Regions from separate parts of the Homo sapiens genome. Here all the other regions are linked to region 7. The links are contacts of gene promoters, found by promoter capture Hi-C in blood cells and fetal thymus (Javierre and others, 2016). All regions are on one chromosome and are shown on one strand. Each heading gives the region's core, a stretch centred on a gene start or on the middle of the fragment in contact. The rest is flanking DNA. Distances are from core to core; before and after follow the strand shown.

What was found. The method cuts DNA at HindIII sites, captures the fragments that hold promoters and counts their contacts. A CHiCAGO score of 5 or more calls a contact.
Region 1: a fragment that was not itself captured here is called in contact with the fragment with the promoter of PCDHB7 in region 7 in 2 of 17 cell types (M1 macrophages and endothelial precursors); the score reaches 6.7 in M1 macrophages.
Region 2: a contact is called between a fragment that was not itself captured here and the fragment with the promoter of PCDHB7 in region 7, in 4 of 17 cell types (M1 macrophages, erythroblasts, fetal thymus and 1 more). The highest score is 6.9, in M1 macrophages.
Region 3: a contact is called between a fragment that was not itself captured here and the fragment with the promoter of PCDHB7 in region 7, in 4 of 17 cell types (M1 macrophages, M0 macrophages, M2 macrophages and 1 more). The highest score is 9.2, in M1 macrophages.
Region 4: a contact is called between a fragment that was not itself captured here and the fragment with the promoter of PCDHB7 in region 7, in 5 of 17 cell types (M1 macrophages, M2 macrophages, M0 macrophages and 2 more). The highest score is 10.9, in M1 macrophages.
Region 5: a contact is called between a fragment that was not itself captured here and the fragment with the promoter of PCDHB7 in region 7, in 4 of 17 cell types (monocytes, M0 macrophages, M1 macrophages and 1 more). The highest score is 6.0, in monocytes.
Region 6: a fragment that was not itself captured here is called in contact with the fragment with the promoter of PCDHB7 in region 7 in 2 of 17 cell types (M2 macrophages and M1 macrophages); the score reaches 5.8 in M2 macrophages.

What each region holds. Positions count from the first base shown.
Region 1 is chr5:141,325,557-141,329,274 of GRCh38, reverse strand. No RefSeq gene overlaps it. Among named protein-coding and RNA genes, the nearest start is that of PCDHGA1, 3.1 kb to the left of the region's middle. RefSeq lists an enhancer at 2,828-2,947. The HindIII fragment of the contact is 3,687 bases long and covers 440-3,718 here.
Region 2 is chr5:141,404,974-141,409,003 of GRCh38, reverse strand. The region is part of intron 1 of PCDHGA1 (protocadherin gamma subfamily A, 1); the gene reads right to left. All of the region lies in intron 1 of PCDHGA2 (protocadherin gamma subfamily A, 2), which reads right to left. The region is part of intron 1 of PCDHGA3 (protocadherin gamma subfamily A, 3); the gene reads right to left. The region is part of intron 1 of PCDHGB1 (protocadherin gamma subfamily B, 1); the gene reads right to left. It also overlaps PCDHGA4, PCDHGB2, PCDHGA5, PCDHGB3, PCDHGA6 and PCDHGA7, and 6 more genes. RefSeq lists an enhancer at 525-574. The HindIII fragment of the contact is 857 bases long and covers 2,006-2,862 here.
Region 3 is chr5:140,957,113-140,960,986 of GRCh38, reverse strand. The region is part of intron 1 of PCDHA1 (protocadherin alpha 1); the gene reads right to left. All of the region lies in intron 1 of PCDHA2 (protocadherin alpha 2), which reads right to left. All of the region lies in intron 1 of PCDHA3 (protocadherin alpha 3), which reads right to left. The region is part of intron 1 of PCDHA4 (protocadherin alpha 4); the gene reads right to left. It also overlaps PCDHA5, PCDHA6, PCDHA7, PCDHA8, PCDHA9 and PCDHA10, and 5 more genes. Among named protein-coding and RNA genes, the nearest start is that of PCDHAC2, 7.4 kb to the left of the region's middle. The HindIII fragment of the contact is 1,223 bases long and covers 746-1,968 here.
Region 4 is chr5:140,934,333-140,938,126 of GRCh38, reverse strand. The region is part of intron 1 of PCDHA1 (protocadherin alpha 1); the gene reads right to left. All of the region lies in intron 1 of PCDHA2 (protocadherin alpha 2), which reads right to left. The region is part of intron 1 of PCDHA3 (protocadherin alpha 3); the gene reads right to left. The region is part of intron 1 of PCDHA4 (protocadherin alpha 4); the gene reads right to left. It also overlaps PCDHA5, PCDHA6, PCDHA7, PCDHA8, PCDHA9 and PCDHA10, and 5 more genes. Among named protein-coding and RNA genes, the nearest start is that of PCDHAC1, 9.9 kb to the right of the region's middle. The HindIII fragment of the contact is 499 bases long and covers 1,153-1,651 here.
Region 5 is chr5:141,033,440-141,037,443 of GRCh38, reverse strand. No RefSeq gene overlaps it. Among named protein-coding and RNA genes, the nearest start is that of PCDHB1, 16 kb to the left of the region's middle. The HindIII fragment of the contact is 607 bases long and covers 1,813-2,419 here.
Region 6 is chr5:141,305,583-141,309,158 of GRCh38, reverse strand. No RefSeq gene overlaps it. Among named protein-coding and RNA genes, the nearest start is that of SLC25A2, 3.3 kb to the right of the region's middle. The HindIII fragment of the contact is 5,316 bases long and covers 1-3,576 here.
Region 7 is chr5:141,170,824-141,174,583 of GRCh38, reverse strand. It overlaps PCDHB7 (protocadherin beta 7), which reads right to left and starts at 1,940. Exons shown (of 1, transcript NM_018940.4): 1 at 1-1,940. The coding sequence starts at 1,748. It also overlaps PCDHB@. The HindIII fragment of the contact is 10,030 bases long and covers 1-3,760 here.

The DNA.
Region 1 (3,718 bases), core at 1,034-3,533, 150 kb before region 7:
AAATTTAAAGGTGCAATAAATCATCTTCAATATTGCAAGGAAGTAACTCTTTAACAGAGAATGTAACTTTTCAGAATACACATTAATAGGCATAAACTTTTCCCCAAAGAAATTGTGAGCTAATGAGGTAAATTAAAATATACATAAGAACTAGTAAGTAAACCTGTAGAGCTCCCTACTTTCAGCAACCAAAAACACGCAGGAGTGATTTATAAAAGGATGGTAAGTATAAAATAAAAATGTTAAAATATCACACAAATACATTTGAATCAAATGCAACATTTAAAGCTTCATTGCTGCCCACACACAGTGGCTCACGCCTGCAATCCCAGCACTTTGGGAGGCCAAGGTGGGCAGATTACTTGAGGCCAGGAGTTTGAGACCAGCTTGGTCAATATAGTGAACCCCGTTTCTACAAAAACAAAAATAAAACAAAGCTTCATTGCTGGCACTGCAGAGAATACCTGGTTCAAAGCTGTTTCTTGAGTTAAAGAAATTAAGATTTTAAAAATATCTAAAACCACACATACGTTGTAGGAACAGGGCAAATTTCCTTTCTTTAAGTTGGAGACAACTCCATATCCGGGCTTGGACCAGAGATCCAGCTGAAAACAGCCCCAGGCAATGGAGCTATAGGGGGCATTGCAGGTTCAGAGAGATGGCCAGAGTCACACTGAGGAGAAACAGCATGGAGATCAAGGCAACGGCCATCGCCAGCTGTTGGGTGCTGTCTGCTGCCTGCTGTTGGGTGCTGGGCGATTGCTGAGGTCTGGTAGCAACTCCTGCAAACTATGAGCAGCAACCAGGTGATGTTTCAGCGTGATGATTCACCATTGACCACGGTGACCAACAAACCTTGGCAGGTTGCATCTCTGTTACCCACAGTGACACGGCACGCATCTAGCTCGTGCACATCCCTAGTTTGAAGAGCCACATTAGCTGGCCTGAAGCACATGATAGGACAGTCAGCCTTTATGCCCCAGCTGGTGTCCACTTTGGTGATGGGATAGCTGGGTTGCATTGTGAGTGGTGCAGCATCAAAGAGGGCCCCACTTGGCTGCAACTCCTGGCATAGTGTCCTTGCATTTTTGCAATGGTCATCCACCATCACATGCAGGTTCAGGATGACACTGAGCAAGTTGAACCCTGGTCACTGGCCTGCAGAGTCAGCTCAAAGATAGTCTGCATGGTAACCATAGCACTCTGCACTCACTGACATGTAGAATGACAGTGCCCACAGTGGCAGGTCACTGGTCAAGAAGAAACAGGAGGCATATGGGACCCTAAGTTAGGGTGGGAAGCGCTAAAGCATGTGATGGAGGTGCTGGGCAGTGTTCCCAGTCACCCAAAAGAAATAGGAGGCTTGTTGAAGAATGAGCATTTTTGTGGATGCAGATGGTATGCAGGGTGATGCAGGAGAGGGACAGTTTGTCCTTGTTGGTGGTTCTGATGGTGACATTGTCCTTCAGGGTCTGCTACCAGTTTAGAATTCCATCTGTGAGTATCTGACAAAGAGTCACATCATAATTCTTGGAGGTGAATTGTTTGCCAGTATGATCATTTCTCTCTATAATAACTTTCATCTTTCATTTAAGGTCTCTTAGTCCTATTGTTTTGGTTAGGGCAACCACAGTTTTTACCTCTGATAGGACTAGATACCCAGCTGAAAGTCACCTGCACTGACTGCATTATACTTCTCAACCTTCATTTCAACCAGGACTCTGAAGTCGGCCCTCAAACTGCCTCCAGTCTTCTATTCCAAGCTATAACTGTTACTCTTCAAAATCAAGTATTTCTGTCATTATTGGACAGGAAATATATTCTGTATGCCCTGTAAAATTGTGTAGAAAAATCAGGAGAACTCTATATTAAAGATATTGTCTAGGTCAATGGGGATCACCTAAAGAATGAAGAGGAGGAGGTGGCGAGCAGGTTCTCCTGCAGGCTAACCCCACTTACACATTGCTCAATATCTGACGGCTGGCATTGGCATCCAAGGCCTGTGTCTTGCCCTGAGCTGTTCTGCCCCATCCCCACCACTAAGTGGTGGCAGCTCTGCTCCTCTGGTTCAGGGTTTCTTTTCTTTTCTTAAGAGATGGGGTCTGGCCATGTTACTCAGGCTGGAATGCAGTGGCTATTCACAGGTGTTCTCATAGTGCACTGCAGCCTCTAGCTGGCATCAAGCAATCCTCCTGCCTCAGCCTCCTGAGTAATGGGGACCACAGGAGTGCCACGCTGCACAGGCTCAGGGGTTCTTCAATAGCAGCAATTCAGAGTACATACTGCTGTAGTACTCTCCTTTACTTGTAGGGGAAGGGGAGATGGCTATTAAAACTAATCTGATATATTTGTACAGTTACTGCCGGTGTTCAAAATCTACTGCAGACTTAAGAGTAAACATTCCTCTTATTAAGACGTTTTTCAAAATTTCCAAAACAAAATTTGTGCTAAAAGCCATTTTGTTATTTATATCAAAGATGCATACGTTTATATGAAAACATTTATACGATTTTCAGTGCCTTCAAATTCAAAGGGCCGAGGGTCTTCCTTGGGCATAACTGCTAGATCTATCCCGTCATTCTCAAGCTCGGCTCTGGCTCGTTCTCTGGCTGTAAAGAGAGGCTTCTCAGCACTTACCCTTAGTTCTTTCCGTCACCGAGACGCAGATCTTCTGAGAGATTACCAACCTTAAACCCCTAGCCTTCTCTTCCAGAATTTTACAGCGTATCGGCTACGTAGAATAAAGACCTAGTAGAATAAAGATCTCAGGCAGGGAAACAGCGCTTCCTGCGCTCCTCACGCCTTCCTTATGGGGGACTTCTTCCTCTGTTTCTTCTTCCTGCTGATACTCAGATCCGAATACCTCTCGCTACCGTTGCTCCCTGCTTCCTGCTTCCAAAGATGCTCAGGAATAAAAGGCAGCACCTCACTCGGGGTCACTAGACATCCTGAGATTCCTGACCAAGATATTTCGAGCAGATTGTGAGACAGACAGCGGGCAGAGTCCTCTCCTAATGTGTGTCTCAAAAGCCTGCGGGGACTGCTGCGTCAGTGGATTGCTTTGTTTCCCTCCAGCCACGGATTGGCGGACAGCGGCACCCAGAGGCCTAGTATGATATCCCTAGCAGGTTAGTTTTCAAGGTCCTCAAAAGAGACTGTATTGGCTTTTTTCTCGAGACATATTTTAAAATACCAGCTGCTTTACTAAGAAGGGTACAAATCATTGTTTTTGATAAAATATTAGCAAAATGATCATTTCACAAAATTTAGTTCTAACGTTTTATTAAAATTCTTAATTTTTTTTTTTTTTTTTTTTGAGACAGAGTCTTGCTTTGTCACCCAGGCTGGAGTGCAGTGGCACGATCATGGCTCACTGCAACCTCCGTCTCAAGGGTTCAAACAATTCTCCTGCCTTAGGCTCCCTAGTAGTTAGGATTACATGTACACACCACGATGCTCAACTAATTTTTGTACTTTTAATAGAGATGGGGTTTCGCCATGCTGGCCAGGATGGTCTCGAACTCCTGATCTCAGGTAATCCGTCCGCCTTGGCCTCCCAAAGTGCTGGGATTACAGGTGTGAACCACCGCACCCAGCCTAAAATACATTAAAATTCGACTAAGAATTCTTACAAATTTTTCCCTCTTGACATTTCCTTTTCAAGATGACACACTATTGAAACTTATTTTCTGTAAAAATGGCTACTCAAGAAATTATC
Region 2 (4,030 bases), core at 1,185-3,684, 230 kb before region 7:
AGTGGCTGTCACTTGCAACACAGGGGACCCAGGGGGCAGATTTTCACTAAGACTAATTCTATATTCGTCTCTGCTGAAAACCGGGGGGTTATCATTGGTATCCTTGACAGAAATTTCTATGTGAGCGGTGGCACTTCTTGGTGGGTCCCCTCCGTCCAAGGCAGTCAATATCAAGCTATGAGATCTCTGTTCTTCCCGGTCTAGGAGTTTCTCCAGAGATAACTCTGGGTATTTGCCACCATCGGAATTAACTCTAACCATTAATGAAAAATAAGGATTAGAGTTTATCTTATAATCTTTAATTGAGTTTATGTTTATATCAGGATCCGTGGCAGGGTCAAGCGATAGTCGTGTACCAGCGGATGCAGATTCGAAAATTTCTAAATGTATTTCCTTTTTATCAAATTGAGGGGCGTGGTCATTAACATCCTCAATCACCACAATGACATGAAAAATATTTAAAGGATTTTCCACCACAGCTTCCAATTGCAACTCACATCTTCTTCTCTCTTTGCATATTTGCTCACGGTCTATTCGGTTCTTCACAAGTAAGTCCCCGCTCTCCGCGTCTACGCTGAAGTGCAGCTTCTCCGCGCTCACTCGCAGCTTGCGAGCCGACACATCCAGGACACTGAGCCCTAGATCCTTAGCGAGGTTCCCCACCACCGAGCCCTTGGCCAGCTCCTCCGGAATCGAGTAGCGGATCGGCTCACTCAGGGTGGGGTAGAACAAAGGCAGCAGCAAAGGAAATAGCACCTGCCGCGGGCCGGCCCGGCGCCTCTGCGCGCAGCTCCCTCCCATCGTTCGCTCGGGTTCTCGCTGGGTCCCCGCTTTTCCAGTTGGAGAAAGTGCACTCTACCGCGCTAAAAGAGCATTCGGCCCAGGACAGGAGGAGTCCCGGGTCTCGGAGCTGGCAATCCGCTGTGCTGGGAAAGGTCTGCGCAGCCGGGAGGCTCTGTGTGGGAGCTGGTTTTCTTCTTTCTGTTGTTGGCTGCGCAGGGAATCCCAGGCCAGAGGCTGACGGATCCCCGGCGTCAGCGCTTGCTCTGCACTGGCCGACAGCGGCGCCCAGAGGCTCCGTGCGGGACAGCAGCCCGGTTTTTCATTTTGAATTCGGTCTCCGAAATGTATATATTCTTCGAAAATGCAGGTGTACATCCCCCTCAAATTTTGCTCTCACCATAATATTATAGTAGATATTTCTATGCTTTGTGTTTTAAATAAATCTATTATGCACAATTTCAAACTTATACAACAGTAGGGAGTATATATAGTGAACCTTCACATAGCCATCACCCCACCTTCAACAATGATCACCACAAAGCCAATCTTTGTTTAATATATACTGCGCTCCCCCATTATTTTTAAGTAATACGAGATATAGAATGTCAACCAATGCTTCTTTTTAAGATGAGACATTAAGGTCAAGAATTTTATCTTTCAGCTTATGTTCTACAATCTGTTACCAATGCACAATAAGTTAAGTCCTACATAGCCTAAGAAAAACAGAAATAAAGATTTTCCATACTCCATTCAGTCATCTGTCTGGTGAGCCTCGTGTTCTGGTTTTAAGGGCAAGAGACATTTTTGTGGTATCGAATAGTAACTACCTACCATGACATACAAGCCTTCATGGATATCTGTTATGTTTTCCCCAAATTAACATACATTTCAATATTTATAAATACTAAGTATGAAGGCTACTCCTCAGAACAGAAATTGTAACAATTTTCTTGTTGCATGGTTAAAAATATGAGCCTGAAGTATGCTTTATTTTTTTTGCTACCCACTTAAGGGGGAAAACGTGTTTGAAATAATTAAAATGTCTGTATGTCATAAAGGATTCCCAGACACTTCAGCTTTTTTTTCTTAAAAATAAAGCAACTGAAACCCAAATAATTACAAACAAATAAAACAATTCTTCATTTCCACAGAAATGCCAGCAGTCATCAGTGTATCTATGGATCACATGTTTAGCATAGAATTTTGAGTCAACTTCAAAGCTTATTTTCAAATGTCTTGTGAAATGTTATTTACTATTTGAAACAACACTATGTTTAAAATAACATTAAATAATACATTATTCTCTTCCTTATAGCTAAAAACAGTAAAATAGTTTTAGAATCTTCCCAGCAGTTCCTGAGAATATTTTCTTAAATTATATCTGATATGCAAGTTCATTTCTAGACTCAAAAGTTGGAGAATTGAGCCAGAAATAATATATAAGTGAGAGAAATATTTTTAATTCCTTGTTTTGTCATTTCACAGTGTCCAGTCTTAGAAACTTCTCTTGAGCAAGCATATACTATAGAAAAGAAGAATGTCCTACTATTCTCCATAATTTAACATTAAAGCATTAGGAAATTAAGACCTTTGAAGATATGAGAATAAAAGATGTGACAACTTTCACCATTAAAGGGAAAAAATTGGTTTACTAGGGTTTGGAAGTGGATAACTGAAGTTTGAATCTTCGTCAGAAAATATCTGTAAACACAAACAGACTTTACACACTTGTGATCTGAAAAATATAACCTCAAAGAGGTGTTTTCCTGTCATAGAAATGGAAGAATAGAAGCAATAAATCTGGGCTTTCAGCTGTTTCTCTAAGAAGAATACATTTACCTTTTTATCAGTTTACCCTTACAAACATAGTATGACCTGAATAAATGATCGTAGGAGTAAGAATTTGCTGGGTGAGGTGGTTCACACCTCACCCAGTGCTTTGGGAAACTGAAGCAGGAAGATCGTTTGAGACCAGTCTGGGCAACATAGCTTGCTAGCCCTCCCACCTCAGTCCTAGCTACTGTGAAGGCTGAGGTGGGAGGATTGCATAAGCCCAGGAGATTGAGACTGCAGTAAGCTTTACCCACACCACTGCATTCCACCCTGGACAACAGAATGACACCCCCATCTCTTAAAAAAAAAAAAAAAGGAGTAAGAATTTTATGATATGAGTCCACTGCAACCAATGAAGCAACCCTACCCAAAAAGCCCACATCAATGCAGGCTGAGAGCTACCCCATGAAGTATGGTTTACGTTGACAGCAGGTTAATTATTATGAGAACATGAAAGTTATATCAGCAAATATAACTAATAAATGCCTCCTTTCAGTGTTGGAGCAACAATTAGGCCCAGTGAAAAGTGATGAGAAACACACTGATATCAACTTATACTACCTTAAGTACAGACAGTTAAAGAGAAAGCTAACTATAATAGAAAGTTAAGGGCCAGGCGCAGTGGCTCACGCCTGTAATCCCAGTGCTTTGGGAGGCTGAGGTGGGTGGATCACTTGAGGTTAGGAATTCAAGACCAGCCTGGCCAACATGGTGACACCCCGTCTCTACTAAAAACACACAAAAAATTAGCCGGGCGTGGTGGCACGTGCCTGTAGTCCCAGTTATTCTACTTGGGAGGCCTGTAGTCCCAGCTACTCTACTCTAGTCCCAGCTACTCTACTTGGGAGGCTGAGGCAGGAGAATCGCTTGAATTTGGGAGGCGGAGGTTGCAATGAGCCGAGATCACACCACTGCATTCCAGCCTGGGTAACAGAGTAAGACTCTGTCTCAAAAACAAAACAAAACAAAAAACAAAAAAAGAAAAGAAAGAAAGAAAAAAAATGAACTCACCGGAACCAAAGGGGTGTCTTCTATAGGAAACTTGGAATCAACAGAGACGCACAAAGGCTCATTTTTCTCACAGCTCTGCTGGCTGATGAGTGTGTCTGCATAGTTGGGCTGGGGGAAGATCAGGTGACTCTTCCTTGAGTCAGCGGTGAGGGAGAACTCCTGAGAATAGGTCTGTAGGAAAGCTCGAACCCCATCTACACCCACAAAGTGTGAGGTGGGCACACCAGCCAACCCATCACTGGTAGCCCGCAGCAGATGCGAGGAGTGCCAGTGCCTCAGCCTGAGGGCCAGCAGCGTGATAACGAAGGTGAGGAAGACACAGGAGACGACTGCCACAGCCACAACGAGGTAGAGGGTAAGGTCTGAGGCCTCCAGGTCTGCAGGGATCTGAAGACTGCCCAGG
Region 3 (3,874 bases), core at 108-2,607, 210 kb after region 7:
TTTTTGGAACAAGAATTGCAACTGCCTAGGTTAAGCTATGTTTCTAATTCACTAAACTTAGTACCAATTTTCTATCTGAAACTCAAGATATGCCCCAAATTCATTAGTGTGTATTTCAGCTAATTTCTGGCTTATAGTTGCCATTAAACCTGTTCCAAGTTTCCATTCATCACTTGGGACCTCTTATTTTAATAGAAACCTTGTTTGGCCCTATTTCTCCTCTGTAACTCTTGGGATTTTAGCCATGGACTAAAATCATGGACTAAAATAAGATGAGTATTTGGCACTAAAGAACACCCTCATTCCCAAGTAGGTTTTAGCCAAAGCATTCATTGATTTGGATAGGGGTTTTAAAAATATATTTCAAAAACACACTAGATATTGTTGAAGTACCTTGAATTTGAACTGTTTTCCAACTGTTTTCCTAAGCTCAGTCTATATGAAGGCCACAGTTTCTCTTTCCTATACCCATTATGTTTGCTGCTTGGAACAAACAAACCTACACCTCTGTGTAAGAAGGATTACTTCTCAAAATTATCCATACATATATCTAGAGTATCAAGTAATTGTTGACTTTTTGGGCACCCCCCCTTGCATCCTAATGTCTTGGCACTTAAGAGTTGGCATATTATTTCAGTACATATCTCACCTCATGTACTTCTCACAGGACCCTAATGAGGTTGGTATTGATGAAGAAACTGGGTCCCAAAAAGGTGACGGAATTTATCAGAAGCTCCAGGAAGCTTCTTTTTACCATGGCTCTGTTTCTTGAGATCCTGAAATAACATCTGACCACTACACATGCAACCCCTAACTTAAGAATTGTATTATCAGTCTCAAGCTATTAATATCTAAGTATTTCATAAGGAATACTATTGTTCCCACAACTACAAGTTTCTTTCTCTTTTAGAAACTTCAATTGAATCTTCTGTACATGTTTTTAATAATAAACAGCCGGACTTAACAAAATCATGATGCAAAATAGATTTGTATTTCATATCCCAACTTCTTCTTTCAGTAACATCTACCTCCTACCTATGATATTCTGCCTAAGTAATGGGGCTTTACAAATGGCTTTGATTTTTCTGATATAAATCCCACTCGTGTATTCCTTGACAGATTTTGCTACATAATTCCTTTAGCAGTTACAGGCATAATACATTATCATGTGGGTAAAATATAAATCCTCTAAATTAGCCATGTTAATATACACTGTTCTTACTGAATATTAAAATATACTTTAAGGCATTTTGATGAGATAATGTTATCTAAAAATTTTCCCTTTCAAAGCTCATTTTATTGAAATTATTTAGAAATGATTTACAAATTCTTCAATTTTGCTTCTGTGTTTTTTCTCTCTTTTTTTCTATCACAAGCAAGAAAAGCATGTTATACTTGGCTGATAGAATTGAAACAAAAAATCTAGTACTGATTCTATTTATACAGCATCTCTGAATTAATGGTCTTAAAGATCTTAAAATTTTTTAGTTTGATCCATATATAACAATATGCCTTGATTGATGCCAACTTCAGCTTTTCAGCACAAAATAGAAAAAAATACACAAATTCTCAGATCAATCAACACTTTATCTTAATTTGTGACTTTTTTTTTTGAGACAGGGTCTCACTCAGTTGTCCCGCTGGAGTGCAGTAGCATAATCAAAACTTATTGCAGCTTCAACCACCGGGCTCAGTGATGCTCCCACCTCAGGCTCCTGGGTAGCTGGGACTACAGTCATGCACTATCATGCCCAGATAATTTTTGTATTTTTTGTAAGGACAGCATTTCACCATGTTGCCCAGACTGGTCCTGAACTCCTGGGGTCAAGCAATCTGCCCACTTTGGCCTCCCAAAGTGGGCTCACCTCGCCCACCTTCGGACCCCTGCTGAATGTCCGAAACCAAGGATAATACTGAATTCTATATATACTGCATTTTTTCCTATACATACATACCCATGATAAAGCTTAATGTATAAATTAGGTACAGTAAAAGATTAGCAACAATAACTAATAATAAAATAGAACAATTATAATAATATAATATTATTACAAGTATGAGCCACCACACCCAGGCAGACTTTTCTGTATCTATTATATAGCTACTGGTCAATTCTTTTATAAACCCAGTAAACCAAAGACACTGGAATGATAACTTTAAGATATAAAAATTAAAACAGAATGGTGTGATAATTTACTAGAAATAGAAAGTTGATTTCAAACAGAAATGGGTAAAAATCTCCTTTCTCTCTTTCCCATTCAGTGTTACATTTATTATAACAGAGTTGTCACTCTAGGATATTCAATATCCTTTATAATTAAAATTTCATCATAGCTTTCTGTGATTGGTTTTCTGCAGTACTCTCAAGCTGGACTAGTATTCCTTTGATCCAATTATCATAAGCTCATTTAAAATCTCAACTGTGTATGAAACATTTATTGGTTCATAAATCAATGTACACATAGTATATATTGGACAGCCATGCCTCCTAGGATATGTGGACTTAGTGCTCTTTAAGCCAGCAGAAGTTGAAGAATAAAAGGTATTTTTAAATTATAAAAAGTGCTTCTTTCCAAGCATCAGTGATAATGTTTGATGACCTGTTAAGAAAATAGCAACATTCCTGATAAAGTCAGACTGTGAACTTCCTGTGATTTATTTATTTTTTGAGCTCTAATTTATTTTAATTAAGTTCAATAATATTTAAAATATATACTTCTTGTACCAAATTAAATTTGTTCAGAATTGTTAAAAACAATGAAAGTCCTTTAAAATCTAATTCCCTTGTATACTAGACCAGTAACAGAAAATTTATATCACTCCAGGCTTTTGACTATGCTATATAAATATACACACTGATACATTTTACAAAATGGAACCACACTCTACACACTATTGTACAACTTTACTTTTTGCTTCTGTGTTTTTTCTCTCTTTTTTCTATCACAAGCAAAGAAAGCATAGTATACTTGGCTGATAGAATTGAAACAAAAAATCTGGCACTGATTCTATTTATACAGCATCTCTGAATTAATAGTCTTAAAGATCTTTAAATTATTTAGCTTGATACATAGATAACAATATGCCTTGGTTGATGCCAACTTCAGCTTTTCAGCACAAAATAGGAAAAAAAATACACAAACTCTCAAATCAATTAACACTTTCTCTTAATTTGTGACTTTTTTTTACTTAACATATATGATGAACTTAGTTTTTACTTAACATATATAATGAACATCCTTTCATGTCAGTATATATAATTCTGCTTCTTTCTTAATAAAAACTACATAATGTTCATTGTCTAGATATTTCATAATTAATTTTTACTCCATGATTGAATATTTAAGTGCATTTCTGAAAGTGTGTGCATGTATATGTCTGTGTGTTTATTCTGGGAAGTGCTTTGTTAAAAGTACAGTAGTCCCTCCTTTTCCACAGAGAATACTTTCTAAGATCCCCACTGAATGTCTGAAACCAAGGATAATACTGAATTCTACATATACTATGTTTTTTCCTATACATACATACCTATGATAAAGTGTGATTTATAAATTAGGCACAGTAAAAGATTAACAACAATAATAATAAATTAGGACAATTATAACAATACACTATAATAAAAGTTTTATGAATGTGGTCTCTCTCTCAAAATATCTTACTGTACTGTGCTCACCTATTTTCTGAAACTGCTCAGAGTGAAACTGCAGGTAAGGGGGGACTAGTGCTTACATATTTAAATTTTAGGTAGACATGCCAAAATGCTTCGCCAAATTTTTGTGCCTATTTATATTCCCAATCGGTCATCAATAAACCAATTTATATACTTAGATTTGTCTCCAAAATTTTTAGTTCATAGTGTAGTAAAGAAACACAC
Region 4 (3,794 bases), core at 153-2,652, 240 kb after region 7:
TTTTTTAAAAAAAGAGAGAAAGTAAAAAATACAATAATAAAACTAACATTATTTGGGAATAGCATGACAGTATATGTAGAAAACCCAAAATATAAAAATATGAGATTTTACTATTTAGCAAGAACATTGGATACAAAGTTAACATAAAATCAGTATTATTTCTATATACTTTCAACAAAAGCCAATTATCAAATTAAACTTTTTTTTTTTTTTTTGAGACGGAGTCTCACTCTGTCGCCCAGGCTGGAGTGCAGTGGCGCGATCTCGGCTCACTCCAAGTTCCGCCTTCCAGGTTCATGCCATTCTCCTGCCTCAGCTTCCCGAGTAGCTGGGACTACATACGCCCGCCACCACGCCCGACTAATTTTTTGTATTTTTAGTAGAGACGGGGTTTCACCGTGTTAGCCAGGATGGTCTTGATCTCCTGACCTCGTGATCCGCCTGCCTCAGCCTCCCAAAGTGCTGGGATTACAGGCGTGAGCCACCATGCCCTGCCTTTCTTTTTCTTTTTAGATGGAGTATCACTCTGTTGCCCAGGCTAGAGTGCAGTGACGCGATCCCAGCTCACTGCAACCTCTGCCTCGCAGGTTCAAGCAATTCTCCTGCCTCAGCCTCCTGAGTAGCTGGGATTACGGGTATGTGCCAACATGTCCAGCTAATTTTTGTATTATAAAATTAAACTTTTAAAATAGCATTAAAATATCAGCTATCTAATAAAAGTTGTGCAATACCCCTATATACACATACACACACATAAACATTAAGATAAAATAATAAAATAAATGGAAGAAGCCGGGCGCGGTGGCTCACGCCTGTAATCCCAGCACTTTGGGAGGCCGAAGCGGGTGAATCACGAGGTCAGGAGATCGAGACCATCCTGGCTAACACGGTGAAACCCCGTCTCTACAAAAAATACAAAAAATTAGCCGGGCATGGTGGCGGGCGCCTGTAGTCCCAGCTACTCGGGAGGCTGAGGCAGGAGAATGGCATGAACCCGGGAGGCGGAGCTTGCAGTGAGCCGAGACTGCGCCACTGCACTCCAGCCTGGGCGACAGAGCGAGACTCCGTCTCAAAAAAAAAAAAAAAAGATAAATGGAAGAATATACCTTGTTAATCGGTTGTCTGTCTCAATATTGTCAATGTTAACAAGCTTCATATTTTTATAGATTCAATAAAGATCAAAATAAGATATTTTCAATATACCCCATATTTTCTACAGATTCAATATAGTGCCAATTAAAATCAAAGCAGGGTTTTTTAAAATAGAAACTGAGAAGCTGAATCTACAATTTATATAGAAATGCAAAGGGCCAAAAATAGCTAAGTTAATCTTGAAGCAGAATAACAAAGTGAGAGAACTTACACAATTAGATATCAATACAAATGAAAAGTTACTATATTTAACACAGAATGTATTGGCACAAGAATAGACAAGTTGACCAATGAAACAGAATAGACAGTCCAGAAACAGAATATATAAAGTCACGTTGCTTATGACAAAGGTAGCACTGCACAGTAGCAGCGAGGAAAGTAGGCAATCTAACTGGATTTACAAGTGGAAAATATAAATCTTGACTTCTACATTGCACTATATTCAAAAGCAATTTCAGGTAATTTAAGATCTAAATGTGCAAGTTAAAACAAGAAAGCTTCCAGAACTACAGCAACCACTAAACAGATGTGGTTATTTAAGCTTAAATTAATTAAAATTAGTAACATTAAAAATTGAGTAGCCCAGTTTCACTAGCCACATTTCAAGTGCTCAGTAGCTACACATTCCATATATGCAGATAGAGAAAATTTATAGCATGTCAGAAAGTTCTATTGGATAGCAATGTTATAGAAGAAAACACAGGAATATATCTTCATGACTTGAAGCAGGATATGTTTTCTTTAAAAGGATAGAAAGAATACTAAATAAAAAAGACAACTTTGGCTGGGCGTGGTGGTTTAGGCCTCTAATCCCAGCACTTTAGGAGGCCAAGGCGGGCAGATCACTTAAGGTCAGGAGTTCGAGACCAGCCTGGCCAACATGGTGAAACCCTGTCTCTACTAAAAGTATAAAAATTAGCCGGGTGTGGTGGTGGGTGCCTGTAATCCCCGCTACTCGGGAGGCTGAGGTGGGAGAATCGCTTGAACCCGGGAGGCAGAGATTGCAGTGAGCCAAGATTGTACCACTTTACTCCAGCCTGGGCAACAGAATGAGAATCTGTCTCAAAAAAAAAAAAAAAAGATAATATTGATAAATTGGAGCTCATTAATTGCTAATCAAAAGACACCATTAAGCAGTATGGAATATGTGTAAATACTATACTACTATGAAATAATCTCGTTTATATTTTTAAGTGAAAAAACTCAAAGTGGGGAAGAATGTGTATTGTATGGAATAATAGATACTAGACTTCTCTAAATATATTTTGTTTTATAAGTTTATTTTGGAGCCATGTAAATATTTCACATAATTATAAAAGAAAATTAAAATTTAAAAAGCAAGCCCTAAATTTGAAAGCGACTTGAAAAAAGCCTAGCTCTGTATCTAGCTGGTGGCTTAACTACACAGAGAGGAACTTTTCCAAGATACTTTAAAACACAATAATTTGACTGTACATGCCTACTGGGCATTTGTAAGGATGTGCCTTATAAATGAAAAGAATGACAAAAACTTAAACTGCTACAGTATCATATTATTTCTGTAGTGCTGAAATTGTTTTCTAAGTCCATTGTTTGAGTCCCGTGGGATAACAAATGAGTAATTCTGTTGACGTTAATGAAAACTGGGATTTGACGTATGGGAGAAATAGGAATGTAAGATTGATGAAGTTAAGTAAAAACCTCGGAGTGCTGAACTTTATTAGATTAGTATAAACATGTGATGTATTTTATCTTTTAAAAAATAGACATCCCTTAGCTCAGTAGCTGAAGATACCTAGAAACAGCAACTGACCCAGCAGCAATAAGCACACCTGTTGTTGAGATTATATCTCTAAGTATCATCTTTCACTAAAAATAAGTGAAAGCTCTTTGAAAAATGGCTGATTCTGGGAAAGGAAATGTACAAGATAATCTGAACATCTTGTAATACCAGAAATCAAGGAAGCATTCAAAAGACTATTAAGACTCACATGAAAAGGATTCAGGGTGTTATCACTGGGGAAAAGTGGGTGACAAGCACATGGGATCTCTCTATACTAGTTTTGTAACTTTATGTGAATCCATAATTATTCCAAAATAAAAGGTTTAAAACAAGATACACAAACACACTCACAAAGACTCAGGAGCAAAGCTGAACAGTTCCCAACTTGCCAAAGTTAGCATAATTTGATCATTAAAAAGATAATTGACATGGATTGGGCCATATCAAATATGTTTAAGTCAATGAGTTCATAATGACACCTAAAAAAGGCCTTGGTCCTTTTTGTAAGATGGCCAGGAATCAATTCATTGTTTTGAATACTGCTAAACAAAGGGGAAGAATCAAACATTTATCCTGCCTTTCCTGTGTGAACTGTACCTCAGGCTAATCAAATAGTTGAAGACCCATTACAGAAATGTTACAATTAATTAAAAAAAAGAAGAAATGATAGAATTAGAACGGTAGCTCTCGAAGTGTGGTCTATGGACCCTTTGGGTGTTTATGAGGTGAATATAATTTTCAAAATAATGTTAAAACATTATTTGCATTTTTCACTATATTTACACTTGCATTGATAATGCAAAAGCATTGGTGGGTAAAGCTGGCCACCATAGAACCACAGAAGGAGTCAAAGCAGTGGCTCCACACTGTACTGGTGGTT
Region 5 (4,004 bases), core at 867-3,366, 140 kb after region 7:
ATTATGTCTCGGCAGTAGAGAAATTTCTGAAGAGATATTAGCATAGATTTTTTTCAACTTCTCCATCATACTAACTCACTATAAAAAATCATGCCTACAGATATGGGCCCATATATGTCATATAGGCCCATATCTGTAAATTGATTGTAAAAATTTACACTCTACCCTATATAGCTTCATATATGTATATACATATATCTTCATAATATAACTTTATGTTTTATTGGCGTTAAAAGGATAGTTCATAAATTGCCACTTCATGGAAAATAGCACATCATAGGACTCATGAAGCTGAAGCAAAAATACTCTAGAATAAAGAGTTAGAATTTGTTACAGTCACATGAGAAAAAATATGGTACATGGGGCTGTAAGTCTGATCCTATGATGTAGCTAGAAAAACAGTTATCTGTCATCAAATAATCATTGCTTATTTCTCTTTTGCCGGGTTGTAATACCAGATACCAGAAAATTTAAAATACTTGTTAATTTATTCATTTATTCAGCAGATATTTATTGAGCACCTATGAAGTGCCAGACACTAGACTCTGGGCATATAGCATCAATAATATATGGTATGCATTATTAGGGAACCCCTGCCTTTAGGGAGCCCAAAAATAGATACACAATATTATATGAAATAGTGGCAAATGTTATAAAGGAGAAGGGGGATGATGAGAAACCAATTAAGGGTTTTTAATGGAGATTTGATTTACATTATAAAAAGATAAGTCTGGCTGTTGTATGGGTAGAAGAAGGGAAATTCATTAGAAGCTCATGGCAATAATGCAGGCCAAAGATAATGGTAGTTTGTACAAGGGTAGGGGTGCTGAAGAAGTTTAAAAAATTGGTTGGGTCTGGAACTTTTTTTTTTAATTGGCATGATTTCATGATGGATTTAATGGAAAATGAAATAATAAAAAAAGAATGCTCTCTGTTTTGAATATCTTAGTGATTGGTGGTGTCATTACTAACATGAGGAAAGTTAGGGTTAGTTTTGGAATGGAAAAATCAACAATTTTATTTTGGACATGCTAAATTTAAAATGCTTGTTAAACATCTAAGTCATATCAAGTGGGCAAATGAATATTTGGATCTGGGGACTTAGAGGAGATACTATATCTACAAATATGAATTTTAAAGTAAAGATTAGGAAAACTATAAAGCAATGAAATGAGGTCACCTGGAAAATTCACGTAGATAGAGAAGATGGTGAATCCTAGCACACATCAGCTTTAGAGGTCTAGAAAATGGAAAGAAGCCAGCAAAGGAGACTGAAGGAGGGAATGACCAGTGTGGTAGGAGGAAATCCAGGAAAGAATGTCCCCTGAGAACCATGTGGAGAAACTGTTTGAAGGAGAAAGGAAATACTGCTTTAGTTTAGTAAAATGAGGCTTGAGATAGAAAGATGGAAACCTCTTGTGACCTTGGCAGAGCAGATTCAATGAAGTAGTAAAATAAAAACCTGATCTAATATGATAATCCATTATGAAAATATTACAGAGCTTGAGTTCATTGTAAATAATGCTACTTGAAGTAGAGGTCATATGAATTGCTAAGATTGATGGTCTATATGCATATAATTAATTAACTTCTAAATTCACTATTTCTTAGTATTAGTAGATCAAAGTATATAGATTGTTTTACTGTAATGATGGCTGCCTAAAGGGAATATTGAGTCATAATTTCTTCATAGCTCTGAAGATACTATTTAATTCTATGATTTGTAACAATGAAAATAATAGTTTTAAATTCTTCCCTTCTTCTGAGATATTACAAATACCTACTCTGGGCCTCAAAATAGAAAAATAAGCTTCCTTTGTGAAGAGCTCTTTGTTAAACTTCCTATTTTACTGAGGACTCCATATGATGCACTGATGTTTGCAAAAGAGTTCTTTTATTACTTGTGTTTGTACCATGATGAGGCTGTTTCCAATAATTGTTGTAATTACTAGGTCTCCTAATCTTGCAAATTGTCCACTCTACAAAGCTCAGTTCCATCTGATGGGCCCAGTAAAGGAGCTTTAGAATGCTGTCACCTGAGCCAGCTCTTTTCCACAGCATTGTTCAATCAAGGGACTTCTCTTCTAAAGATTGTTTTTTACCTAACACTCAATCACCACTCTAGTCATTCAGTTACTAAATATTATTAGGCATCTCCTATGTTTGGCCTCTCCTGGAGTCAGAAAATGTAATGTCGAATGAGATGGATCCCATCCTAGCCTCACAAAACTTAGATCCTAATGGGTAAGACAGACAAAAAAATTGTTACAGCAAATATGTTACAGACCGCCAGCATAAGAATACAGGGTAATAGAAGAACTCAAAACTACAGATGGGAAATGGGAGGCTGGGAAAGGCTGGGCTCTGAAAGATGAAGAGTTATCTAAGCAAAGAGGAAGGAAAACAATTGCAAAAAGCTTGTACAAAGATTTAGAAGCAATGAAAGGATAGTGCATTTGAAGAACACTGTGGAAAAGGGAATAAAATTTATCATTATTTTTCTCTCCTTTAGGGTGACTTGCTTTAATACTTCTTAGTGACCTTCAAACCACCTTAAAAATTGATTATTCATTGTCAGATTTTATTTTTTGCTTGTAAAGGCTATTTATTTTTGTGTAGTAATCAGTATTCATTAGCTAATAAATATTATGATAGTGCTTATCTGTATTAGCTAATATTTCTCTATTATATAATATATAAACTATAAAAATATATAATATATAAATTATAAAAATATATTACCTAATATATAAATTATAAAAATATACAATATATAAATTACAAAAATATTATATAATATATAATAATTAGAGAAATATTAGCTAATACAGATAAGCACTATCATAAGGTGATAATCAATTTTAGTAATATTTTTGAAATTCTTTTCAGATAATTTTCGAACATTTTAAAAGTATTATTCTCTAACTCTTCCAAGATTGCCTAACCACTCCAATTTTTCATTAATTCACTCTCATGAGGCTCTAAGGGGTTTCTGTACAGATTAAGCATTTCCTCTTATTCCAATTCCATAATATGAATCATGATGAATATAATAATTTATCAAGAAATATTTAATAAGTGATGCTTTATTTCTAATATGCTCTGAGTATAACTGAAAGAAATTCAATTTTTCTAAGATTTAATAAACTCAAGATAACACCTAACTGATGATTCATTCTCTTATTATTCCTGGAAATCTGGGTGTGGAAGAGGTAAATGAAAACACATAATTAGGTGTTATGCAGAGTTTAAATTATAATTTTTTTTCTGTGCAAAAGAGAGACCCGGTATAGTTTTAATTTTACATATAAGGAAACTGAAGGCCAGAAAAGTAGAATGTCCAATATTACACCTCAAGTTAGCAAAAAAAAAAAAAGTCCTGGAAATCAGATTCTGACTCAAGTCTAGTGCTTTTCTCATTATGATAATATCTTTGTTCCTCATTTTTTCTTTTTCTTTTCTTTTCTTTTTTTTTTTTTTTTTTGAGACAGGGTCTCACTCTGTTGCCCAGGTTGAAGTGCAATGGCATGATCATGGCTCAGCAGCCTAGAACTCCTGGGCTCAAGCGAACCTCCTGCCTCAGCCTCCAAAGTAGCTATGACTACAAGTGCCTGCCATCAGACCTGGCTAATTTTTTGTTTGTTTGTTTGTTTTTGGTAGAGACAGGGTCTCACTGTGTTGCCCAGGCTGGTCTTGAACTTCTGGCCTCAAGTGATCCTCCTGTCTTGGCCTCCCAAAGTGTTGGGATTATAGGTATGAACTACCACACCTGGCCTCAAAGTGCTTTTGATCTTTAAAAGTTTGAGGGCCACTGCTTAGAAATCCATTTGTTTAGTCAATAAATATTTATAAAGGACCTATGACATTTTAGGATTGTTCTAGGTATTGGGGATACAGCAGTGAATGATTGACAAAAATTTCTGCTTTCTGGGAACTGGAGAGATCATCAGATCACTGATACCAGCTGGGATATTTATAGGACTGGATACATTTGAATTTCTGGT
Region 6 (3,576 bases), core at 715-3,214, 130 kb before region 7:
TTTTATGGAGGCAAAAATAGCCTAGCATGGCTGTTCATACAGCAAAAGAAGATAAAATAGCAATGTAGAACTTAATCCATTTATTTGCAATGAAAGATAAAATATATAAAATATTTTTTAAATCTCACTCAGATAACACCTTTACAGTAAATAACCTTAATTATATGTTTTAGGCTCTCTCCATAATGAAATAGTAATGCAGACTATATGCCATGTCACTAGACTTGGAATGCCTTGGACTTGCTTATATTTATTACACATATAATGGGCTCCCTTTGTCTTAAGGTCTACATCTAATGGCTAAACCATTTCCAAATATCTGTTTCATTTGCCATTCAGTGTTTATTTTTAGACTACAGGATGCTTCGAAGGCAAATTTCTAATTTATATTAGGTGACCTTGCAAAATCTACATAATATGTTATTATTTAAATAATTTCTGGGCTGAGCACAGTGCCTTATTCCTGTAATCCCAGCACTTTGGGAGGCTGAGATGGGAGGATCACTTAAGCCCAGGAATTTGAGACCAGCCTGGGCAACATAGTGAGATTCTGTCTCTACAAAAAATTTAAAAATTAGCTGGGTGTGATGGTGCACACCTCTGGCCCAGCTACATGGGAGGCTAAAGTGGAAGGATTGCTTCAGCCTGAGAGGTTGAGGTTACAGTGAGCCATGATTGTGCCACTGCATTCTGGCCTGGGCAGCAGAGCAAGACAAACCAAAACAAAACCCTTTTCCCCCGTTCCCTTTCCTGAAAGTGAAATCAAAACATAGAAAAAAATTCCTCAAATATGACATGAAGGATTTAAAAATCCTAATGAAGTTTTCTATTTTCAAATTGCAGATTGTTCTCATCCTTTCTGCTTTACCTAAGAGGCTGCTAAATAAAACAACAGAAAGGATTTTTAAAAGATGTTAACTTCTAAGGACAAAGAGAATAGGAAATGAGACAACAGTGGATGAGAGATGTCAACCCATTATCTGAAGGCCAAAACAGAGAAATGATAAATGAATTCATAGATCAGAAAAAGTTACATGCTAAATGTCTGCAAGTAGTTATACCAAAGAGAGACAAACCCACTTGACAGAGCCTTGTAAGATGCAAAATTTTTGCAAGCAGAAGATTCCAGGGAAGGTGGGAAGGTGTAGGGTTAGAGATGTGAGATTCATTAAAGTCTGTGTTCAGAGTTGTTGGGTGTCCAGGATCTCTATCCCACTCTATGAAGCCAGATAACTCTTTCCATCCCACAGAAGATGGAAATTTTATTTTCTGGATAAATTGAACCAAAGAAGGCCCAAACTCAGAGAAAGTAGGCACAGTGTCAAATAAGGAAAAAATTATGTGAAAGTCTGTATATTTACTCCAGGTGTGTCATCCCTCTTCCCCTCTCTTGTTCTCTTTAAATCAGTATCTAGGTTTATAACCTACCTCTCCCCCACCACACCCTGCACACACACAGTCAAAGCTCATAGAGCATTCTCTGAGGAAACTATGTGGTACCAGAGAAAAGAACTGCAACTGCTGACATTTGGGCATTTCCCAAAGAAAAGCCCAGATTACTATTTACTACAGTGAAGACTACCTGGTGACAAATTATCCATGCACAATTTGCTTTTTAGTACCTCATTAAAAAATTTTTTTTTAAATTTTCTCAGAGACCTTTGTTCTGAAGTACCTCACTTTTAATTGACAGCCAAGGATAATTAGACAAGGAAAGTTTTCTAAATGAAAGAGAATGCTTTCAGCATACTTTCTTCCCCCCAGATTTTGTTTTTACTACCCATGGCCGACGACGGCTTGGAATGTAAGCCTGGAGAGAATTCATTCCAATGCTGGGATTATAAATATCTGGGAGGAAGAAGTGTGTCCTGACAGTGGTATCCTCACTAATGTCCAAAAAACATCTTGCTTTGAAAGCTAGACATGTCATTTGTATCCCGAACTTCTACTTCTTTTTAAATTGAATTTCATTTTAGATTCAAGGAGTACATGTGCAGGTGTGTTACATGGGTATGTTGTGTAACGCTGAGGTTTGGGCTTCTAGTGAACCCGTCACCCACATAGTGAATGTAGTACCCAACAGGTAGGTTTTCAACCCTCAATCCCTCCCACCCTCCCCACTTTTGGATTCCCCAGTGTCTGTTATTCCCATCTTTATGTCTTTGTGTACCCATTGTTTAGCTCCCACTTATATAAGTGAGAACATGCAGTATTTGATTTTCTGGTTCTAAGATATTTCACCTAGAATAACAGCCCCCAGCTCCATCCATGTTGTGAGGGACATAATTTCATTCTTTTTTATGGCTGCATAGTATTCCGTGGTATACATATACCACATTTTCTTTATCCAATCAACTATTGATGAACACTTACATTGATTCTGTGACTTTCCTGTTGTGAATAGTGCTTCCATAAACATATGAGTGTAGATGTTTTCTGGTTTTTTTTTTGGAGACAGGGTCTTGTTTTGCCACCCAGGCTGGATCATAACTCACTGCAGCCTCCAACTCAGCTCAGTCAATCCTCCCATCTCCGCCTCCTGTGTAGCTGCCACTACAGGGGCATGCCATCATGCATGGCTACTTTTTGTATTTTTTTGTAGAGATGGCATTTTGCCATGTTGTCCAGGCTGGTCTGGAGCTCCTGGGCTCAAGCGATCTACCTGGCTTGGGCTCCCAAAATTCTGGGATTACAGGTGTAAGTCACTGTCCCCAGCACAGGTGTCTTTTTGATAAAATGATTTCTTTTCCTTTGGGTAGATACCTAATAGTGGGATTGCTGGGTTGAATGGGTGTTCTATTTTTAGTTCTTTGAGAAATCTCCATACTGCTTTCCATAGGGGTTGAACTATTTTACATTCCCACCAACAGTGTACAAACGACAAATTTCTACTTCTGCATGAGGCTGTGTGGGTCCTCAAAGAGAATCTCAAAACTTAGAAAGCATAGTGCTGAGCCACCCAGCTCTTTTCTATCAAGTTTCTTAGCAATGCAGTATATAAATACTATCCATTTTCCAAGTTGATTTTATAGTGCCGTGTTCTATCTTCAGAAATGATAAGGACTCCACGTTCCACCAGTTCCCAGGGCTGCAACCCCAGATCCTTGGGGATGTTGCCATGTGATAGCATTTCTCCAGCTCTGCAGGAAAGCAGTAGCACATCTCCAGGGCTAAGGATTCCCACAGTGCCCTACTCCCCTCCTTGCCCCCCAGGAAAGTGAGGAGCGTGGGCAGATCGCTGAGGGTTTTCTGATCAAAAGCAGTCACTGTCTCTCATGTAGCAACCCTCAGATCGTTTCGTTACCGGACAGGGGTCCCGATCCAGACCCAAGAGATTGTTCTTGGATCTCATGCAAGAAATAATTTGGGGCAAGTTCATAGAGTCAAGTGAAAGCAAGTTTATTAGAGAAGTAAAGAAGCAAAAGAATGGCTACTCCATAGGCACAGCAGTGGCCTGGGCGGCTTGACTAAGGATACTTACAGTTTTTTATTGAATGTAAGCTAAACAAGGGGTGGATTATTCATGAGGTTTCTGGGAAAGGGGTCCAAAGTTACCGGAACTGAGGATTCCTCCCC
Region 7 (3,760 bases), core at 691-3,190:
CCCGGCTCGGCCGCCCGGGGCAACGGCTCGGTGCAGGGCGCGGAGCTGTTCTGCAGCGGGTACAGCACGAAGGGCGAGTTGTCGTTGGCGTCCAGCACCAGCACGCGCACCAGCGCCTCGCTGCTCAGCGCGGGGGAGCCGCGGTCTGTGGCGCCCACGCGGAACTCGAACGCCTGCAGGGCCTCGTAGTCCAGGGACCTGAGGGCAAACAGGTGGCCGTTGTCCGCGTTGATGGAGACCAGGGAGGCGAGGGGCAGGTGCGGGTCCTGGGACGGCAGCAGGGAGTAGATGACCTGGGCGTTGGTGCCCGAGTCTCTGTCTGTGGCGCTGACACTGCCGATGGGCAGGGCGGGGCTGTTGTTCTCACGGACAAACAGGGTGTAGGAGGTTTGGGTGAAGGCGGGAGCGTTGTCATTGACGTCGGAGACCAGCACGGTTATGTTGTGCTCGGTTTTCAGCCTGGGTGTCCCCAAGTCGGTGACGGTGATGGTGATGTTGTACTCAGTGTTCCTCTCTCGATCCAAAGGTTTCTCTGTTACCAGAGTATAGAAGTTTTCGACAGATGGCTTCAGGATGAAGGGGACATCGTCCTGGATGGAGCACACTGTCTTTCCATTGTTCCCGGAATCTCTGTCTCTAATCCTAAAAACAGCCACGACTGTCTCGGGTGAGTTTTCTGCAATTGGGCTAGTAAGTGAAGACAGGAGCAGCTCGGGTCGATTATCGTTTATATCTGTTACATCAACCACTACAGTGCATTTTCCAGAAAGCCCGCCGCCGTCTTTGGCCTGAATAGTTAATGTGTAAGTTTGAATTGCCTCATAGTCCAATTGCGCTTTAAGATGAAGACTGCCAGATGTTGGATTGATTTGAAACGTTTTGAGAATTCTTTCAGTGGCGTAAGAAAATGCATAGGCTATTTCCCCATTACTTCCGGTATCTAAATCTCTGGCTGACACGGAGACAACCATGGAACCAACGGGGCTATTTTCGGGCACCTGCACCTTGTAGAGCGACCGCACAAAATCAGGGGCGTTGTCATTTACGTCTAGAACCAGAATGCGCACGAGGGCGGTCCCTGATCTTGGAGGAGAGCCGCCGTCTAAAGCGGTGAGGGTTAAACTGAACTCTGGTATCTCTTCCCGATCCAGCACTTGATTCAGCACCAATTCGGGATAGATATTCCCCTCCCCGCTATCATGGACATTAATATGGAAATAGGCATTGGGGCTGATGGTGTAGTTACTCAGGCTGTTGGTTCCAACATCTGAATCCTGTGCACTCTCTAGGAGAAATGCCGCCCCTGGAGTGGTACTTTCTAATATTTTCAAGGAAATCTCTCTGTCTAGAAATACTGGAGCGTGATCATTGATGTCTCTGACCCATAGTTCAGCACGGAAAATCTGAAAAGGTTTTTCCAATAACAACTGGAAAGGCAGCACACAGGGCTCTCTGGGGCCACACAGTTCCTCTCGGTCCAATTTCTCATTTAGAAGTAGATCACCAGTAAGCGAACTGAGCAGTAAAATTTGCATGTTCTGGTCTGAAACAATTCTAGTTCCCCGGGCTCTCAGTTCCCCTACCCCTAACCCTAGGTCTTTTGCCAAGTTGGTAAGAAAGGTGCCTCTCTCGGTTTCCTCCGCCACAAAATACCGAAGCGGTTCGGCGCCAGCCCAAGACATTCCCAGAAATACACAAAGAAATAAGACTTGCCTTTTCTGCACAGCACGCTCCACTCTGGCCTCCATTCTTCTTTGGATCAGTCTTTCAAAATGACTTTCACTCAGCCTCCAGCGGCTCTCACAAATGGCAGCAGCGGAATCCTTTGAAATGAGCTGAATAATAGCAATGTTTGTGGGGAAGGATCCTCATTTTACCCCAATTCCTATTACCACTGTTTCCTTTCCTATGCTTTTCTCTTCAGATTGCCTCTTTGCTCTGGAATCTGTAACATCCTTTCTTTGTGAAATTATTTTTCTCTCTCTCTTTTTAGCCAGCAGCGCCACCTTGCGTTTTGTGGATGTTATTCCCGTTATCAAGACTAGAACAAAAAGATGGCGGATTGAAGGAATTCTGCAACAAGAATGATTTGTCCCCGGTATCTTTGCTGTTTCATTCCATCTTTATCCTCAAATGGTCACAGTAATGCTAGTAAGTAATAGCTGATGTCGTTTTCCCCTGTGATAATCTGGATTCGTAGAAGAATTAATTTATAGTCTTCTTAAATCTAGGAGCATGAAACTAAACTCTGACTCCCCACCGAAATCCTAAGAAAATCTCCTATTTTAAAAATGGATAGTAAAAATATATATGAGAAAATGAAACCTCCTCCTTGAAGTCAACAAATATTGGTTGGGGACATTTTATTTATTTGTAAAGTATTTAACAATAATAATGTGAATATGGCAGAATAATTGACCCTTTTCCCAATTTCTTGTGAATTAAACAATTATTCCACTTTCCAGGTCTTAACTCTTTACCTGTGATATTTCTTGGAACACTTTATGCCTCCCCCAAACCCAACCTTCATCCTTCACCTGATTTAAGTATTACATAAGAAATTATTGTTCCTCTATAATTTCAGTGACTAGAATCTCCAATGTCCAATGAATACTCTTAAAATTAGTAGTAGCAAGTTGGTCAATCTTGCATTTGTGGAAGTGCTTCTAGCATTTCATCTTCAACTATGATGGTTGATCTCAATTTGGGGTAAATATTCCTTTTTTGAATCAATAAAGTTTTCTTTTTATTCTTTCATATTTTGAAGTGATTTTTGATAGCTGTTGAAATAATACATTTATTCTTTAGTTTCTAAATTACTGAGTTATTGATATAAATGACATTTAACCATAATGTATTATTGTTTTAGTGCACAGATAGATATGATGTGTCAACATGGTTTTAGGATTTTTCTAGTTAATGTTGTTTACCTAGTGCGTGTTTGCCTTTTATGGCCTTGGTATTAAACTATTATACTGGCATCATAGAATGTGTTAGGGAGCTTTTTATCTATTTTATACAATAGTTTTAATAATTATATTATTATATGTTTCTACATGCTTAATTCCAGCTTGTCTTTTAAACTGGTTGGGTTTGGTGACTTCACTTGCAGTAGATCAGTGACTACCATTTACATTTTACCTTTGGTTATTAATCTGTTCAGGTTTTGTATTTTTAAGTAACTTGCATTTTATTTTGAAAATCATTTTATCTAGTTTGCAAATTTCTTGGAATTGTTTTCATTGCGTTATTTACCTTTAATTGTATCCCTATTTTTATTAGTGATGTTTAGCATTTTAACTCCTTTTTATTCTTGGTGAGACTTGCAAGAGCTCTACTTTACTGATATTTTGAAATGCATTTTTTTCAAAATAATATATGACCTTGGTCCAAAATTAAATAGCACTAAGAGGCTTGTTCTGCCCTTTTCCTCCTCACTTTTCTTAGTTCCCCTTCTAAGAGGTAGCCATTTTAAAACTCTTTTAGTTATCTCTTCAGTCACTAATCTGTTTTCTGATATATTTTGATTAATTAATTTTAGAAATTATCAATTGACTGTTTATTATGTTAGATTACATTTTAGGTATTTTAGATTTTCTTTTACTTACCATATATTGGGAACATTATTGTGTATTAATTATGTTTTCTTTTTCAATTTTTTTGTGATTTTAATAATTATCTTGCCTTTTCATTTACTTGATTTTTTTTATCCCTATCACTTATTCATCCCACAGATACAATTGCCTGTCAGTGCAATTTT